Regions from separate parts of the Homo sapiens genome. Here all the other regions are linked to region 4. The links are contacts of gene promoters, found by promoter capture Hi-C in blood cells and fetal thymus (Javierre and others, 2016). All regions are on one chromosome and are shown on one strand. Each heading gives the region's core, a stretch centred on a gene start or on the middle of the fragment in contact. The rest is flanking DNA. Distances are from core to core; before and after follow the strand shown. Region 1 overlaps OTUD4 (OTU deubiquitinase 4). Region 2 has its middle 48 kb from the start of OTUD4. Region 3 has its middle 27 kb from the start of OTUD4. Region 4 holds the start of SMAD1-AS2 (SMAD1 antisense RNA 2). Region 5 overlaps LOC124900794 (a long non-coding RNA gene).

Region 1 (3,200 bases), core at 51-2,550, 340 kb before region 4:
GCACTTCTCAGGTTGCTATAGAAAAAGAGGATGTTTGACTACATAACCTAGCTCCAGATTTTAATTTTACATAAGGAACTAAAAAAGCAGCTGTTACAAAATATATTCTCAGCAGCCACTGAAAGAAAGAAGCATATTTAGACAACTTTGCTGCTTTAAATAAAGTAAAATTTTAAAACTCCAGTCTTGAATATAGGGAAATATATTTTAACAAAAATTCAAAAATACATGGATTTTAGGACTCTGATTTGGTTTTATAACAATGAGCTTTAAGAAAACAATGTACTAAGAATTCATCAACAATGGGGCCAGGTGTGGAGGCTCACACCTGTAATCCCAACACTTTGGGAGACCAAGGCGGGCAGATCACTGGAGGTCAGGAGTTCAAGACCAGCCTGGCCAACATGGTGAAACCCTGTCTCTACTAAAAATACACAAATTACCCAGGTGTGGTGGTGCACACCTGTAATTCCAGCTACGCAGGAGGCCGAGGCAGCAGAATCGCTTGAACCCAGAAGCCAGTGGTTGCAGTGAACTGAGATCATGCCACTGCACTCCAGCCTGGGTGACAGAGCGAGACCCTGTCTTAAAAAACAGCAAAGGCCGGACAGGATAGCGCTCATGCCTGTAATTCCAGCACTTTGGGAGGCTGAGGTAGGCGGATCAGTTGAGGTCAGGGGTTTAAGACCAGCCTGGTCAAGATGGTGAAACCCCATCTCTACTAAAAATACAAAAATTAGCCAGACTTGGTGGCGGGCATCTGTAATCCAAGCTACTCGGGAGGCTGAGGCAGGAGAATAGCTTAAACCCAGGAGGCGGAAGTTGCAGTGAGCCAAGATTGTGCCACTGCACTCCAGCCTAGGCGAGAGAGCAACACTCCACCTCAAAACAACAACAACAACAACAACAACAACAACAAACACTGGGTGTCCACCTCTAAATGAGTTCCCACAGAGACTTCCTTCTTATAGACCATCTTTCTTCCAGGTTCCAGTAACAGGAGTTGCAGCCCTCGTATCACCCAAACCACAGGCACTTAGAATCACAGGAAAGACAAGCTCTAGGAGCTATCTTTCCCAAAGCTGAGGTGTCCAGATTGTGACTAGCTAGGAGGGAGAAGACACAGCCCAGGGTACAGAGGCTACACTTCGATATCTTACAATGGATTAATTATTTAAAATAGTGTATTGCACATATCTTTACTGGTTACCACTAGCTTAAGAGCAGAGGAAAAAGCTGTCACAAGCCCAGCACCACTGCTTTATGACTGATCTGTACTTTGCCAGAACGGATGATATAAAAGAAACTGGTAGGAAGGGTCACTGCTCTTCTACAGCAGGAATTCTCACACAGAAGAAGGGCAAAGGGAATTCATATGCCCAGGAAACATTTGGCAAAATCTGGAAATATTATTGGTTGTCACAAAGGGAGAGAGAGTGTGTTACTGCCATCCACTAGGTAGAAGCCAAGGATGCTACTTAACATTCTGAAGTTCACAAGAGAGCCTACAACAGAGGAGTATCTGGCCGAAAATATCAATAGTTCCAAGGTTCAAAATGCTGCCCCGGAGCCAAATACAATCAAATGTTTGATTTGCTCAGTCATTTGGATTTTCAAGCTATACACTAACAGTTTTTAAAATGCATATAAATCTTTATTACCAAAATGATTGCAGGAAAAAAAAGTTGGTATTTACAAGTCAAACTCTAGCCACAAGCTCCCTTTCCTCCAATTTCTCTCTGTTTTGTTTTGCTTTGCTTCACTTTGAAACAAGGTCTCACTCTGCTGCCCAAGCTGGAGTGTAGTGGCACAATAATAGCTCACTGCAGCCTTGACTTCCTGGGCTCAAGTGATCCTCCCACCTCAGCCTCCCAAGTAGTTGGGACCACAGGCATGCGCCACCATGCCCAGCTACCTTTCCTCCTACTGCAACAAGTTTTTATTATAATATTAATACTCTTGGTAATTTAAGGTTCTTGGACATATCTTTTATATTATAACAGAATAGAATTATTTGCTCTGATTTGTTTACATTAAGACTGTATAAGGCCGGGCACGGTAGCTCACGCCTGTAATCCCAGCACTTTGGGAGGTCGAGGCGGGCGGATCACGAGGTCAGGAGATCGAGACCACCCTGGCTAACACGGTGAAACCTAGTCTCTATTAAAAATACAAAAAAATTAGCCAGGCGTTGTGGCGGGCGCCCGTAGTCCCAGCTACTCGGGAGGCTGAGGCAGGAGTGGCATGAACCCCGGAGGCAGAGCTTGCAGTGAGCGGAGATCACGCCACTGCACTCCAGCCTGGGAGACAGAGCGAGACTCCGTCTCAAAAAAAAACAAAAAACAAAACAAAAAACAAAAAGACTGTATAAGTTTAGGAATATAATTTCCCATATAAACACAAGGTGATACTTACACTGACACATAGCAGAGCTTTCTTTATACTTTATGGGATACACAATATCATAATGATTTCCATTTGAAAAACACAGTAACACCTGAAAGGGAAAAATAAAAGAAACATTTCAGCCCCTCATACATATAACATTTACATAGCAATGTATGTCTCCAATGCCTCTGAATTACTAGATCATTTCCAAACAGACAGTGAGTATTTTAGGAGTAACCTAAAGCTTCAGTGTTGTCAAGCTACAGTACATCCATATGCTGAAATGTTATATAAACATTAAATCAAAAAATTCAAAATGATTTCTGGAAATGTTTATAGGATCACAAAAAAATAAAAATAATATATGAAAACATGCTTTCAACTACTTAAAGAACAAGACACTGTAAGAAAATATTTCAAAACCTTATTAATGCTAACCTCTAACATGCAAAATTTTCTAACAAGCAAAATCAAAGTTAAATTTCTTTGTATAAGTGATTTTCTAAATCATCACTTATACAAAGAAAAATGCACATTGATTTTGTTTAGAATATAACAATATATTTCAAAACTTGTTTTGAAAAAGCCAGATCCCTTAGAAAGTCCCAGAAACCCCAAAACCCTTATAACAGTAGTATTTCACTCAATTCCCCTCTAACTTAACACCACCAGCATGGTGGAACACAAGTCACTTCAATTTGGCCATCATGACTCCAAAATAGCTACTTAAGACAAAAATTCTCTTATAATAAGTCAGTTGATCTTTCTTTCTAGGCTTCACAAAATTTTTCAGTTGCTTCTGCTTTATGACA
Region 2 (3,094 bases), core at 541-3,040, 270 kb before region 4:
TTTAGTGCTTCCTTCAGGAGCTCTTGTAAGGCAGGCCTGGTGGTGACAAAATCTCTCAGCATTTGCTTGTCTGTAAAGTATTTTATTTCTCCTTCACTTATGAAGCTTAGTTTGGCTGGATATGAAATTCTGGGTTGAAAATTCTTTTCTGAATGTTGCATATTGGCCTCCACTCTCTTCTGGCTTGTAGGTTTTCCTTGGAGAGATCCGCTGTTAGTCTGATGGGCTTCCCTTTGTGGGTAACCCGGCCTTTCTCTCTGGCTGCCCTTAACATTTTTTCCTTCATTTCAACTTTGGTGAATCTGACAATTATGTGTCTTGGGGTTGTTCTTCTCAAGGAGTATCTTTGTGATGTTCCTCTGTATTTCCTGAATTTGAATGTTGGCCTGCCTTGCTAGGTTGGGGAAGTTCTCCTGGATAATATCCTGAAGAGTGTTTTCCAACTTGGTTCCATTCTCCCCAGCACTTTCAGGTACACCAATCAAATGTAGATTTGGTCTTTTCATATAGTCCCATATTTCTTGGAGGCTTTGTTCATTTCTTTTTACTCTTTTTTCTCTAACCTTGTCTTCTCACTTTATTTCATTCATTTGATCTTCAATCACTGATACCCTTTCTTCCATTTGATCAAATCGGCTATTGAAGCTTGTGCATGCATCACAAATTTCTCGTGTCATGGTTTTCAGCTCCATCAGGTCATTTAAGGTCTTCTCTACACGGTTTATTTTAGTTAGCCATTCGTCTAACCTTTTTTCAAGGTTTTTAGCTTCCTTGTAATGGGTTAGAACATGCTCCTTTAGCTTGGAGAAGTTTGTAATTACTGACCTTCTGAAGCCTACTTCTGTCCACTCGTCAAAGTCATTCTCCATCCAGCTTTGTTCCATTACTGGCGAGGAGCTGTGATCCTTTGGAGGAGAAGAGGCTCTGGTTTTTAGAATTTTCAGCTTTTCTGCTCTGGTTTCTCCCCATCTTTGTGGTTTTATCTACCTTTGGTCTTTGATGTTGGTGACCTACAGATGGGGTTTTGGTGTGGATGTCCTTTTTGTTGATGTTGATGCTATTCCTTTCTGTTTGTTAGTTTTCCTTCTACAAGTCAGGTCCCTCAGCTGCAGGTCTGCTGGAGTTTGCTGGAGGTCCACTCCAGACTCTGTTTGCCTGGGTGTCACCAGCAGAGGCTGCAGAACGGCAAATATTGCAGAACAGCAAATATTGCTGCCTGATCTTTCCTCTGGAAGCTTCGTCCCAGAAGGTCACCTGTCTGTATGAGGTGCCCATTGGCTCCTACTGTAAAGTGTCTCCCAGTTAGGCTACATGGGGTTCAGGGACCCACTTGGGGACAGTCTGTCTGTTCTCAGACCTCAAAGGCCATGCTGGGAGAACCACTGCTCTCTTCAGAGCACAGTTGGAAATGTAGAAATCACCTGTCTTCTGCATCAATCGTGTTGGGAGCTGCAGACCGGAGGTGTTCCTATTCGACCATCTTGGAATGGAACCCCCATTTAGATGCATTTTGACATATGCCTATGTTATGGTTTTAATGTGTCCCCCAAAATTTCATGTGTTGGAAACTTAATTGCCTTTGTAACAGTATTCAGAAGTGGGGCCTCTAAGAGGTGAAAGATTAATGCCATTATCTTGGGAGTGGTCTCCTGATAAACAGATGAGTTTGGCTTGATTTTCTCTCTGCCTTGTATGCTTCCTTGTCATTCTGCCTTCCACTGTGGGGTGACCCTTGGCAGATGCTAGAGCACCATGCTTTTGGACTTCCCAGTCTGCAGAACCATGAGTCAAATAAATCTAAGGGCTAAGGGGGCAATATGAGGGATTGGCAATTGGAAGCTGGCAAAGGCTGAATGTGCCAGACAAAAGTAGGGTCTTAGTGGGGGCACACAACTATTGCCATACTGTAGACCTGCAGGAAGCTAGCCAGGCCTCTGCTCCTGCCTGTTGACTTCTGGAACCAACTGGAAGCCAGAAGACAGGGGATCCATGATGCATTCTGCACAGCTCAGTCACCAGAGGTTCAAAGAAGAGCCAGAAAGAATAGATAGTGGGTCTGGAGAAGCATACAGAGAATATCCATGTACAGACTTCCAACAATACCCTGTTCTCCTTATACATTAATGCCTTAAACTACTCACTTCTGATCTAGAAAGTCATAATACATGGTTTCAATCTAGAGACTAGTGGTTCTCAAAATTTTCTTTCTATACTTTCCTAATGTCAGATTATTCTAGGAAGTAAACACTCATCCAGGAGCCACATTTCCCATCCCCTTGTATGTAGGTGACACATTGAGACTGAATTGACCAATGGGAGGTGAGTATAAAGGGTTTATCCCTCTTTCAAGCTTGGCTCATGAAAAACTGCATGTTTGATCATCCATGCTCTTTTCCTCTTTAAATTGGCTGGAATGAAGGCAAACTTTACTATTATGATGTTAGGAATCATATGTTGAAGATGAAAAGGTCAAAGATGGATGAAATCTGAGTCCCTGAATCACTATTTAGAGAGCTCATAGAAACAGAAATACTTGCACTGGAAGAAAAAATAAAATACATACAAGAAACTTATTCATTAGGGAGGCGCTATGGTTTGAAAGCTTATGTCCCCCTCAAAATTCATGTTGAAACTTAAATACCCAGTGCAATGGAATTAGGTATAGAGGGCCTGTAGAAGCTGATTAGGTCATGAGGGTGGAGCTCTCATTAGTGACCTTGGGGGTGGAGAGAACTAGTCAGGCCCTCTTGCCTGTCTTCCTCCCACCATGTGAGTATGCAACAACAGAGCACCACCTATGAAGCAGAGAGCTGACTTCACCAGACACAGAACCTCCTGGCACCTTGACCTTGGACTTCCCAGCATCCAGAACTGTGAGAAATAAATTCTATTTGTTATACATAAAAAAAAAAAAGAAGGCCTGGTGCAATGGCTTATGCCTGTAATTCCAGCACTTTGGGAGGCCAAAGCAGGCAGATCACTTGAGGCCAGGAGTTCAAGACCAGCCTGGGCAACATGGTGAAACCCCGTCTCTATTCAAAATGCCAAAAAATTAGCCAGGCATGGTGGTCCCAGCTACTTGGGAGGCTGAGAC
Region 3 (2,788 bases), core at 158-2,657, 300 kb before region 4:
CTGTGAGATAGCGTGGGGGGAGCACAGAAAAGGCAGAAAATTTATTTGAGAGTCTAACCATTTTGCCATTCAGGATCTATTCTTATTCTTTGTATTAGTCTGTTGTCATGCTGCTAATAAAGATTTACCTGAGACTGGGTAATTTATAAAGGAAAGAAATTTAATGGGCTCACACATTCACATGGCTGGGGAGGCCTCACAATCATGGCAGAGGCAAAGGGGAAGCAGAGGTACATCTTACATGGTGGCAGGCAAGAGAGCTTGTGCAGGGGATCTCCCCTTTATAAAACCATCATATCTCATGAGACTTATTCACTATCATGAAAACAGTGGAGGAAAACCCGCCCCTATGATTCAATTACCTCTCACCAGGTTCCTCCCAGGACATATGGGGATTATTACAATTCAAGGTGAGATTTGGGTGGGGACACAGAGCCAAACCATAACACCCTTATACCAATACAACAGCAACTCCATGATTCTGCCTAACATGAGTCTACTATCCATCATGCAAACAAAGATACTGTTGTCTTTTTTTCCAGAAAATGGACACACAAGGTCCTAGAAAAGTCAGCCATTGTACCTATCTCAAGATTTTCCAGGTGATAACACAATCCTGTAATCCTCCCTGTTGTGGTTCCTTGTGGTCCTGGTTACCTGTGAACTAAATTGTAAAATTAGTCACTACCAATTCTCATTCAACATAAGAGGGAAGATAATGGTAAGAAAATCTGAAAGAAAAAAAAACTGGCACATATGAAATATTGTGTGCGTGTATGTGCATAGCTGCTATGATCCATATTTCTGTAACTGATTACAGGGTCAAGAGTGATATTTATTACTTCCTTCTTCCACCACCCATTTCATGATTGCTTTGTCCTAATATAGCACCTGGATTTGTTGGGATTCTGTACCTGATTGGGTGACTAAGACCTTTATATTGAAGGATCTTAGTCCATAGAAGTTCAGATTTTATTGGGTGGCTTTACACTGGACATAGAAGTAATGAGATATCCTAGAGAATCCCTGGGGTTCTAGACATGATCCTCCCTACCTGCACCATGCACCAGCCACCCAGTTTTCTTGTGTTAATCAGATCAATTTTTCCAGTCTCTACAGCAACTTCCTTCTCTACTTGTTGGTGAGTCTCAGCTTCCAATTTGATGGGACTTGTGTTGGATTCTCTGGTGACAATATTCCTCTTTGGGAACTAAGTCCTGTAAACTAGCAAAGCCCAAGGGTGAGAATGAGAGGCAAAACCTCTGAGAAAGGGCTAGGCTTAACAGGGAGAGAGGCCACTCCCATTTCTATCACTTGGACTATCCCATGTATTATGGCTATGAGAGAAATAACACATCATAAGTAGAGAGCTGGATCAGAGTTATACTGCACCCCTACATCATAGAATGTTGTCTTCTGGCAGATGACATAACTGGCTTCTTAGTAAGCTATTCTTCCATTCTATTAGGCCAGCTGCTTCTGGCTGATAATTTAGGTAGTAAGACCAGTGAACTCCATGAGCAATGAACAATTGTACTTTTTTTTTTTTTTTTTTGTAAAATGGTTTCCAGAAGTCATATTGTAAGGAATACCATGCTACTGAATAAGGCCTCCTGTGAACCCATAGATGGTATTGGGAGATTTATTGCAGGCATTGAGGACCAATGCATATCCTCAGTAAGTGCTTAATTTGCTCCTTCTGTGATGGAAGGAGCTCACTATTGTCTACCTACCACAAAACAGCTGGCTGGTCTCCTCTGGGAAATGTGCCCTATCAGTGACTCAGTGTTGGCCTCTGCTGTTGGCTGGTTGGGCACCCAGCAGTGGCTATAGTCAGATCAGCCTTGTTAAGGGAAGTCTCTGTTATTGAAGTCCCTGTTATGATTGACTCTATCCCTACTGCTATGGTCACTTTGTATGCAATCAAGTACCACGATGGGTGAGAAAAGAGGCTGTACCGAATATCTTCTTTTTGCTCCCCTCTCCACTGTACTCTGAGTTATGAGTAGTTGCATGTGAGATTCTGCAGTTGCTAGGTATGTCTACCTCAACTATCCAGAGATATATCCAGAGACAGAGGATATAACCACAGGATGGGGCTGCGAGCCCACTGGGCCCACTGTGACATAGTCTCAGCCCCAAACTCCATTAACCCCCTGACCTCTATAAGCCCCCATTCTGAATGAATGATGGATCACAGTGATTTTTCCCAGGGATTAGCATCAACTCAAATTTGATTAGCATCAACTCAAATCTATGAATTCCCCCAAATTTGGATACTTGTCTTTTCCCAGTGCACAGTCATCCTGGTAAAGGACTGCAGATCTCACGGGGTAGGTTTGAAGGACGATTTCTAGTACAAGCAGGCAGTGTTTTCAGATCCTTCCTGATAAAACCCATACTCCTGGCTGGGCACGGTGACTCACACCTGTAATCCCAGCACTTCAGGAGGCCAAGGCAGGTGGATCACCTGAGGTCCGGAGTTCGAGACTAGCCAGGCCAACATAGTGAAACCCCATCTGTACTAAAAATACAAAAATTAGCCGGGCATGTTGGCCGGTGCCTGTAATCCTAGCTACTTGGGAGGCTGAGACAGGAGAATTGCTTGAACCCAGGAGGCAGAGGTTGCAGAGAGCCAAGATCGTGCCATTGCACTCCAGCCTGAGTGACAAGAGCAAAATTCCGTTTCAACAAAGAAAAGAAAAAAAGAAAAAAAACCCCACTCTCCCTTTCAAAGGGTCCCAAGCTGTCGAATTGGCTTAGATCTGGGAAATGTGAGAGGCTATGA
Region 4 (3,239 bases), core at 235-2,734:
AGGAAGAGAGTTCAGGCCGTCCTGCTTTGTGTCTGTCAGTTCACCCCTACAGATGTGCATGTTTGTTGTCATAAACAGCACCTGTGAGATCAGTGGAGCGAGAGAAATATGTTCCAAAACATGAAATACAGCAGGATTTTTGTTTCTTTTTTTTTTTTTAAAGGGATAGTTTTTTCCTCCTGTAGTTGATTCCATTTTCATCTGTGAATTTGATATTTGGATTACCTTTTTTTTTTTTAAACTTGACTGAGGGACTTCAGTATTAGTCAGTACTGGTTTAAAATATAGATATACTACTTACCAGAATATGGTCTGGAGAAAGTTACTTTAACCTCTGAGCCTCAAGTTTATTACTAAAATTGAGATAATGATTTCTACCTTGAAGCATTGGTGTGAGGAGTCAATGTAATAATGTTTGTAAAAACAACCAGTATAATGCTTGTATAAGTTGGTAACTCAAACAATTTCGTTTATTAGCTACTGACGAATCATTCATAACTAGCCACTTACGGAAATCTACCACATTTAGCATTCTTTGTAGTCTAAAATTGCTATTTTAGGATAACTGACTCAAAGAGAATAGTTTTTTCTGAGACAACTACCATAGACTTTCTCCTGGGATAGTCAATAAAATTAAATCTTAAAATGTCTGTGGTCTTCAATCTTTCCTGTGTTTGAGGAGTGAGCATTTGTAGGCCAGGAGTCTTTACAGTGTTTGAGTTGACATGAATGTGAATGGCCTTTATCAGGATGAGCTTATGGGGAGCTGGACATCTTGAAAGGCTACCGTGTCCTGAAGGACAGTATGCCATTACAAGCATGAATTTGGGAATGGGGGTTCAATGGGATTAAGGAATGTTGTACAACTTTTAGAGGAAATGGCAAGAAGATATAGAAAAGCCAACTTTGTTTGTTGAAGTTGGGGACAATAAGAAAACTTTCAATTGCCTTAACTATTCAAGTAATCATCTAATCAGACAAAACAGATGTGACAGCTGCTATTTTATAGGGAATCTCTGTGATTAAGAAAAATTAACCAGGTACTCTATTAGCAGCCTAGATTTGTCAGGATGGAAGGATTTGTGTATGCAGAACAGAACCAGAAAGAACTCTTTTTAAAGAATTTTCTGATATAATGAAGATACGTTAATAGCACACTTGGCACACCTAAAATAAATAAACTACAGTTATATCCTTAGAGACTCTTGTCATTCTGACATCCATAAGTTCCTTGCTTCCTTTTCATCAAGGAGATGCTACTTTTGAAATTGTTTGGCTGAAATTTCACAGCTTCAGTGAACTTACAAGTGGTAAGTAGTAAGCTGGAATTCAGTCTACATGGTATTCCTTTTCTTTTTGATTCCTAAGATTTCTACTCACTTAACACTGTTGAGGGACCAAATTGCATCTCTTGCTGGCATGTCACTTAAGTTATACTGGAGAGACTGGAAGACTTGCTGTCAGTGTCTGCGCTTTAAACGCACAGTGTCTGCGCTTTAAAGGCAATAGTACCTGCATTATTGCATCACTATAAATAGAATTTCACGAACTGAACCTCTCTCCTATCTCCAACCCCCAATTTCTCCAGATTTAGAAAATCAGTCTCCGGCAAAAATAAATTTTCAGTGGGAAAAATGTCAAACTAGCTATTCTGCATCATCAGTCCCATGTTTGGAAGTAGCCAGATCAAGGCTGAATAGTAAGAGGCTCAGTAAGATGGAACTTTACTTGTGGTGTTTGTGATGGTAGGACTCTCCTGCTGCTGTGAACTGAGAGCAGCAGAGTTCTGTGTTCTCTGTGGGTCTCCGTATGGCTTTCTTGTGTAGGAATTTGGTTTAAATACATTTTTCCCCTAAGGACTAAAGCGAAATAGAGTTCATTATAGCCTTTTTAGCAATGAAGTTAAGCGCTGTACTTTATGAAGTACGTTAGCATCAGTAAAGAGCAAGGTTTTATCCATTTTCATTTTTCTTTCTGTTCTAGAGGTTTTTTCCTCCCTTATTTTGCTTAGTGGTGAGTTTTATTTAGCTAAATTTGACTCATTTGAGATTGAGACAAATGTTGAAAGTTGAGGGCTAACTGCTGTTTTAAAACAGGAAAAAGGAATGCAGGCACTTCACCTGTTTCCTCCTCCAATACAAATACAGCAGGTCCTCAGACAACCTCATTTCATTCAATGCCATTTCCTTATAACGTTGATGAGAAAAAACATTCCCAGCCTAGGCCACTGTCTGTGTGGAGTTTGCACATTCTCCCCATGTCTGCTTGGGTTTTCTCTGGCTACTCTAGTTTCCTCCCATATCCCAAAGGTGTGCACGTTAGGTGAATTAGTATGTCTACATTGTCCCCATTGCAGTGCATGTAGGTGTGTGTGTGAGTGCGCCCTGCCATGAAATGGTGTCCTGTCCAGGGGTGGTTCCCACCTTGTGCCCTAAGCTGCTGGGATCGGCTCGGGCCACTGCGACCCTGAATTGGAATAATTGGGTAAATAATTATCTTGTTTCTGTTCATCTTTCTTAAATGTATATATGGCTCACATTTATTTCAGTGTTAATTTTAGAAGTGTTTTGGGTCTCAGAAGTTTGGTAATGTTTTTGTGACCAGAAATGTCCTGAAGGAACTTAACTCTTGTTTATATAAATTAGCTGATGCTAAAATTAATTTTGTTTTACATCGTTTCACTTAGAGCCACAGTTTCCAAGAACCCGTAAGGACTTTACTGTATCTGAAAACCTGGTTAGCTCCTAACTGGAGTAACTGGGTTAAAGAAGCATTTGAACATTATTTGTTGAACCAGATCAAAGAACATTGCTACTTTAGGGTATTTTCTGGAACTGAAATAACTAGATCCATTTCTGTTTTTATATTCATTGTAATGGCATTGGACTTGTATAGCAAATTTTAACTTGTCTTTTGCCTGTCTGCCTTAACCTTAAGGGTAGATATTTATCATTTTCCTTAAGGAGCTGTACAATAATCTTTCATGCTTTTTGTTAGGAACCATTTACAATTCCTACTGTCTGCTACTTATCGTTGTGTTCTACTTGTTCTAGAGTTCTGTCTCCACCTGTCTTCATTTTTAGGGGTACTGTTTTTTAGGGGTACTATTTCTCTGTTTGGAAATGTGAGCGGATGGCAGTTTCTGCCTCAGCCCTCTTGCTGGGCCATTGTCTCATGTGGGTTGTCTGCTGTTCCACATTTAAGTAATAGTTATTTCAGCTTTATCAAAAGTTTGTAAG
Region 5 (3,070 bases), core at 343-2,842, 320 kb before region 4:
GCTCAACTGCACTCCAGCCTGGGCAACAGAGTGAGACTCCATCTCAGAAAAAAAAAAAAAAAAATGGTTGAAACTAGTTAGCCAGCTTTGCCGGGCACAGTGGCTCACGCCTGTAATCCCAGCACTTTGGGAGGCCGAGGCAGGCGGATCACGAGGTCTGGAGTTTGAGACCAGCCTGACCAACATGGTGAAATCCTGGCTCTACTAAAAATTCAAAAATTAGCTGGTTGTGGTGGCACACGCCTGTAATCCCGGCTACTCGGGAGGCTGAGGCAGAAGAATCGCTGGAAACCGAGAGGCGGAGGTTGCAGCGAGCCAAGATCCGGCCATTGCACTTCAGCCTGGGTGGGCAACAGAGGGAGATTCCGTCTCAAAAAAAAAAAACAAAAAACGAAACTAGTTACCCAGCTTTGATCATGCAAAGACAACACCGTAAGATAACAGAGCAATGAGATGGAGGACTGAGCTCCTGAATACTTCATAGCCTGTGATCCTTGAACCAGTCCTCTCCAGACTGTGAGAAATAAACTTATTTTACCAACCGTTGCTGCTGTTGTTATTATAGCTACTTAGTCTATGTATTCTAGCACATTTCCCCCTCAAATATTAAATAAGTGATAACATTTGGGACAAATTAAATTTATTTATAAGAGTTTCTGAGTTGAGCAGAACATAATTCTTTTTTTTTTTCTTTTGAGACAGAGTCTGTCACCCAGGCTGGAGTGCAGTGGCACCATCACGGCTCACCTCCCCAGGCTCAGGTGATCTTCCTACCTTAGCCTCCAAAGTAGCTGGGACTACAGGTGTGCACCCCCACTCCCAGCTAATATTTTGTGTGTTTTTAGTAGAGATGGGTTTTCGCCATGTTGCCCCAGCTGGTCTCAAACTCCTGAGTACAAGCAATCCTCCTGCCCCAGCCTCCAAAAGTGCTGAGATTACAGGCGTGAGCCACCACACCTGGCCCATAATTCTTTTTTCTGAGAAGTTAGGGAATTGCCAAAGTCTTAATTGCAAGATTCCAAATGTTAAAGGGCTTCAAAATATGAAGTTTTAACATCGAAATAATGGTGTTATTTCAACTAATGACTTTCTCCCTCACCAACCCACATTCCCCTTCAGCTGCTACATTTGATGGTGTTGACCACCTTTTCATTTTGTTACTCTCCTTCACCTTTTGTAAGGTGAGATATCTTGTGTAGTCAAGCTATTTAAATATCTTGTCTTGATTATATCTCCTTTGCTGATTCCTTTTCTCCCCCACTCCCCATCTCCTAAATGTGGGGGTGCCCCAGGTCTCAAGTTTTAACTTTATTTAGCCCTGTTCTCTTTTTCAAGCTTTAATGTCTTATCTCTAGTCCATGCAGGACATTTCCATCTAAAACACATTTCTAAAAGTAAACTCATTTTTCCCTTAAAACCATCCCCCTCAAGCACTCTAACATCAAGCATTGGGTTTAAATAGTAGATACTCAAAAAACACAACATTTGCTGAATGATTTAATGATGTATCATTTATTATGGTAGATAGCTCTTGTTTTTGCTTAATCGTTATCCATTCTCTGTGGAATAGATGAGAAACAATAAGGAGTTATAGTCAAGGTGATAAAAACCAACTTTTTGCAAATGAAATAATTTAGTTAAATGCTCAGGAAAATCAGGAAAAAACTGGTGTGATGGGACTACATTTCCAATTTATATTTTGGAGGAATGATCATTCAGAAAAATAATCTTATCTGTAAATTTACAACAGAATGAAATGATAGGAGAGAATGTATGCTATAGCTTTTGTGTTTCATTTGCAAGCTATCACAAGGAGGAACTGGCTGGTAGTAGTAAAAGATTTTACCTAGTAAGCTTATGATTCTATACGCATTGCCCACCTTCTCTGGTAACTTGGAATATCAACCTTAGCAAAGTCCTTCACAAGCCTTCCAAGTCTTCAATACTATACATTCCTGCATAGCAGAAAATAACATTGCATGAGTTAGTTTACCTTTTCCTTGCTAGAGCAAAAGGATCAAAAGAATTACAGAGGGGAGACTTCATCTCCCAAAATGGGAAGCAAATACTTCTTACTGCAGGAGAGTGTTTGAAGATCAAGGCTTGAAAGAAAAGAAGACCACTTTTCTTAGTTTTTAAAGTAATTTTTAAAATTTCACTCTGGCTTAATGGTCATCAAGATCAATTCAAAAAATTACAAAAGAAAAAAAAAAAGGAAAGAAGGAAGGAAGTACAAGGAAGGGTAAAGGGGCCAGGACCCTGGTGCCATCTATTAGCCAAGTGAGCTAACCTAGAGAAGGACCTTGCAAGGGGCTTGGCTGCAAATGCTCAGATATCTGTCTTTTCTAGCTCACCATCCAGCCTCCGCATGAGGGAGCATCTCTTGTTGGCCATGCTACTTAACTGTACCAGCACTTCGTAGCTTGACTGCTCTGTAGTACCAAAGTTGGTATATGCCATGAGATCCTTACTCAATCCTAGTAGAGAAAAAAGAGCCCCCATCTGCACTTTAGACAGATGAACTGAATAAGTTTCAAACCCCAGAGCTAGGACTGCAGTCCTGAGACCCTATAACCTGTATGACTAGAGAAGTGAAACTATGATTTAGTTTCTTATTAGAGCTTCGACTTCCGTATATTCCTATGCCTAAGCTGGATGAACTAATAAACCTCACAGTAGACTGAGGCTCTTACACAAGTAGCTATAGCTAGTCATAGTCCATTATCTCTGCAAATAAAACCTCCACGTACTTCCAACCATTTACCTCTCCTTCCACCACTACCTCTTGATTCCACCCTGACAGAAGCAAACTTGCAAAGTCCCATTGCAAGGTATTTACTTTAGCTCCCCAAATAGGATTGTAAACTCTTTGTAGGCTTGTAGAATTTAAGATTCTTTTTTTCTTTTTCAAGTGTCTAATAGTATATTTGCTTTTGCATATTCAGATTAAAAATTCAATGAATATTCATTAAATGATTTCATGTATTCCCAATGAAATGCTCAAAGAAGAAAGTATTTCAAATGAAAATACATAAATAACCACAGGTTATGGAACCTCAACCTGTAGGTT

What was found. The method cuts DNA at HindIII sites, captures the fragments that hold promoters and counts their contacts. A CHiCAGO score of 5 or more calls a contact.
Region 1: a contact is called between a fragment that was not itself captured here and the fragment with the promoter of SMAD1-AS2 in region 4, in 1 of 17 cell types (endothelial precursors). The highest score is 5.1, in endothelial precursors.
Region 2: a contact is called between a fragment that was not itself captured here and the fragment with the promoter of SMAD1-AS2 in region 4, in 4 of 17 cell types (endothelial precursors, activated CD4 T cells, M2 macrophages and 1 more). The highest score is 7.3, in endothelial precursors.
Region 3: a fragment that was not itself captured here is called in contact with the fragment with the promoter of SMAD1-AS2 in region 4 in 5 of 17 cell types (erythroblasts, endothelial precursors, fetal thymus and 2 more); the score reaches 7.3 in erythroblasts.
Region 5: a contact is called between a fragment that was not itself captured here and the fragment with the promoter of SMAD1-AS2 in region 4, in 1 of 17 cell types (erythroblasts). The highest score is 6.2, in erythroblasts.

Annotation. Positions count from the first base shown.
Region 1 is chr4:145,160,225-145,163,424 of GRCh38, forward strand. It overlaps OTUD4 (OTU deubiquitinase 4), which reads right to left. Exons shown (of 21, transcript NM_001366057.1): 6 at 2,416-2,497. Among named protein-coding and RNA genes, the nearest start is that of OTUD4, 19 kb to the right of the region's middle. The HindIII fragment of the contact is 2,660 bases long and covers 1-2,630 here.
Region 2 is chr4:145,227,233-145,230,326 of GRCh38, forward strand. No RefSeq gene overlaps it. Among named protein-coding and RNA genes, the nearest start is that of OTUD4, 48 kb to the left of the region's middle. The HindIII fragment of the contact is 1,115 bases long and covers 1,234-2,348 here.
Region 3 is chr4:145,206,355-145,209,142 of GRCh38, forward strand. No RefSeq gene overlaps it. Among named protein-coding and RNA genes, the nearest start is that of OTUD4, 27 kb to the left of the region's middle. The HindIII fragment of the contact is 3,706 bases long and covers 1-2,788 here.
Region 4 is chr4:145,501,496-145,504,734 of GRCh38, forward strand. It overlaps SMAD1-AS2 (SMAD1 antisense RNA 2), which reads right to left and starts at 1,485. Exons shown (of 2, transcript NR_108077.1): 1 at 1,381-1,485. The region is part of intron 1 of SMAD1 (SMAD family member 1); the gene reads left to right. The HindIII fragment of the contact is 25,873 bases long and covers 1-3,239 here.
Region 5 is chr4:145,184,301-145,187,370 of GRCh38, forward strand. It overlaps LOC124900794 (a long non-coding RNA gene), which reads left to right. Exons shown (of 2, transcript XR_007058294.1): 2 at 1-542. Among named protein-coding and RNA genes, the nearest start is that of OTUD4, 5.2 kb to the left of the region's middle. The HindIII fragment of the contact is 519 bases long and covers 1,334-1,852 here.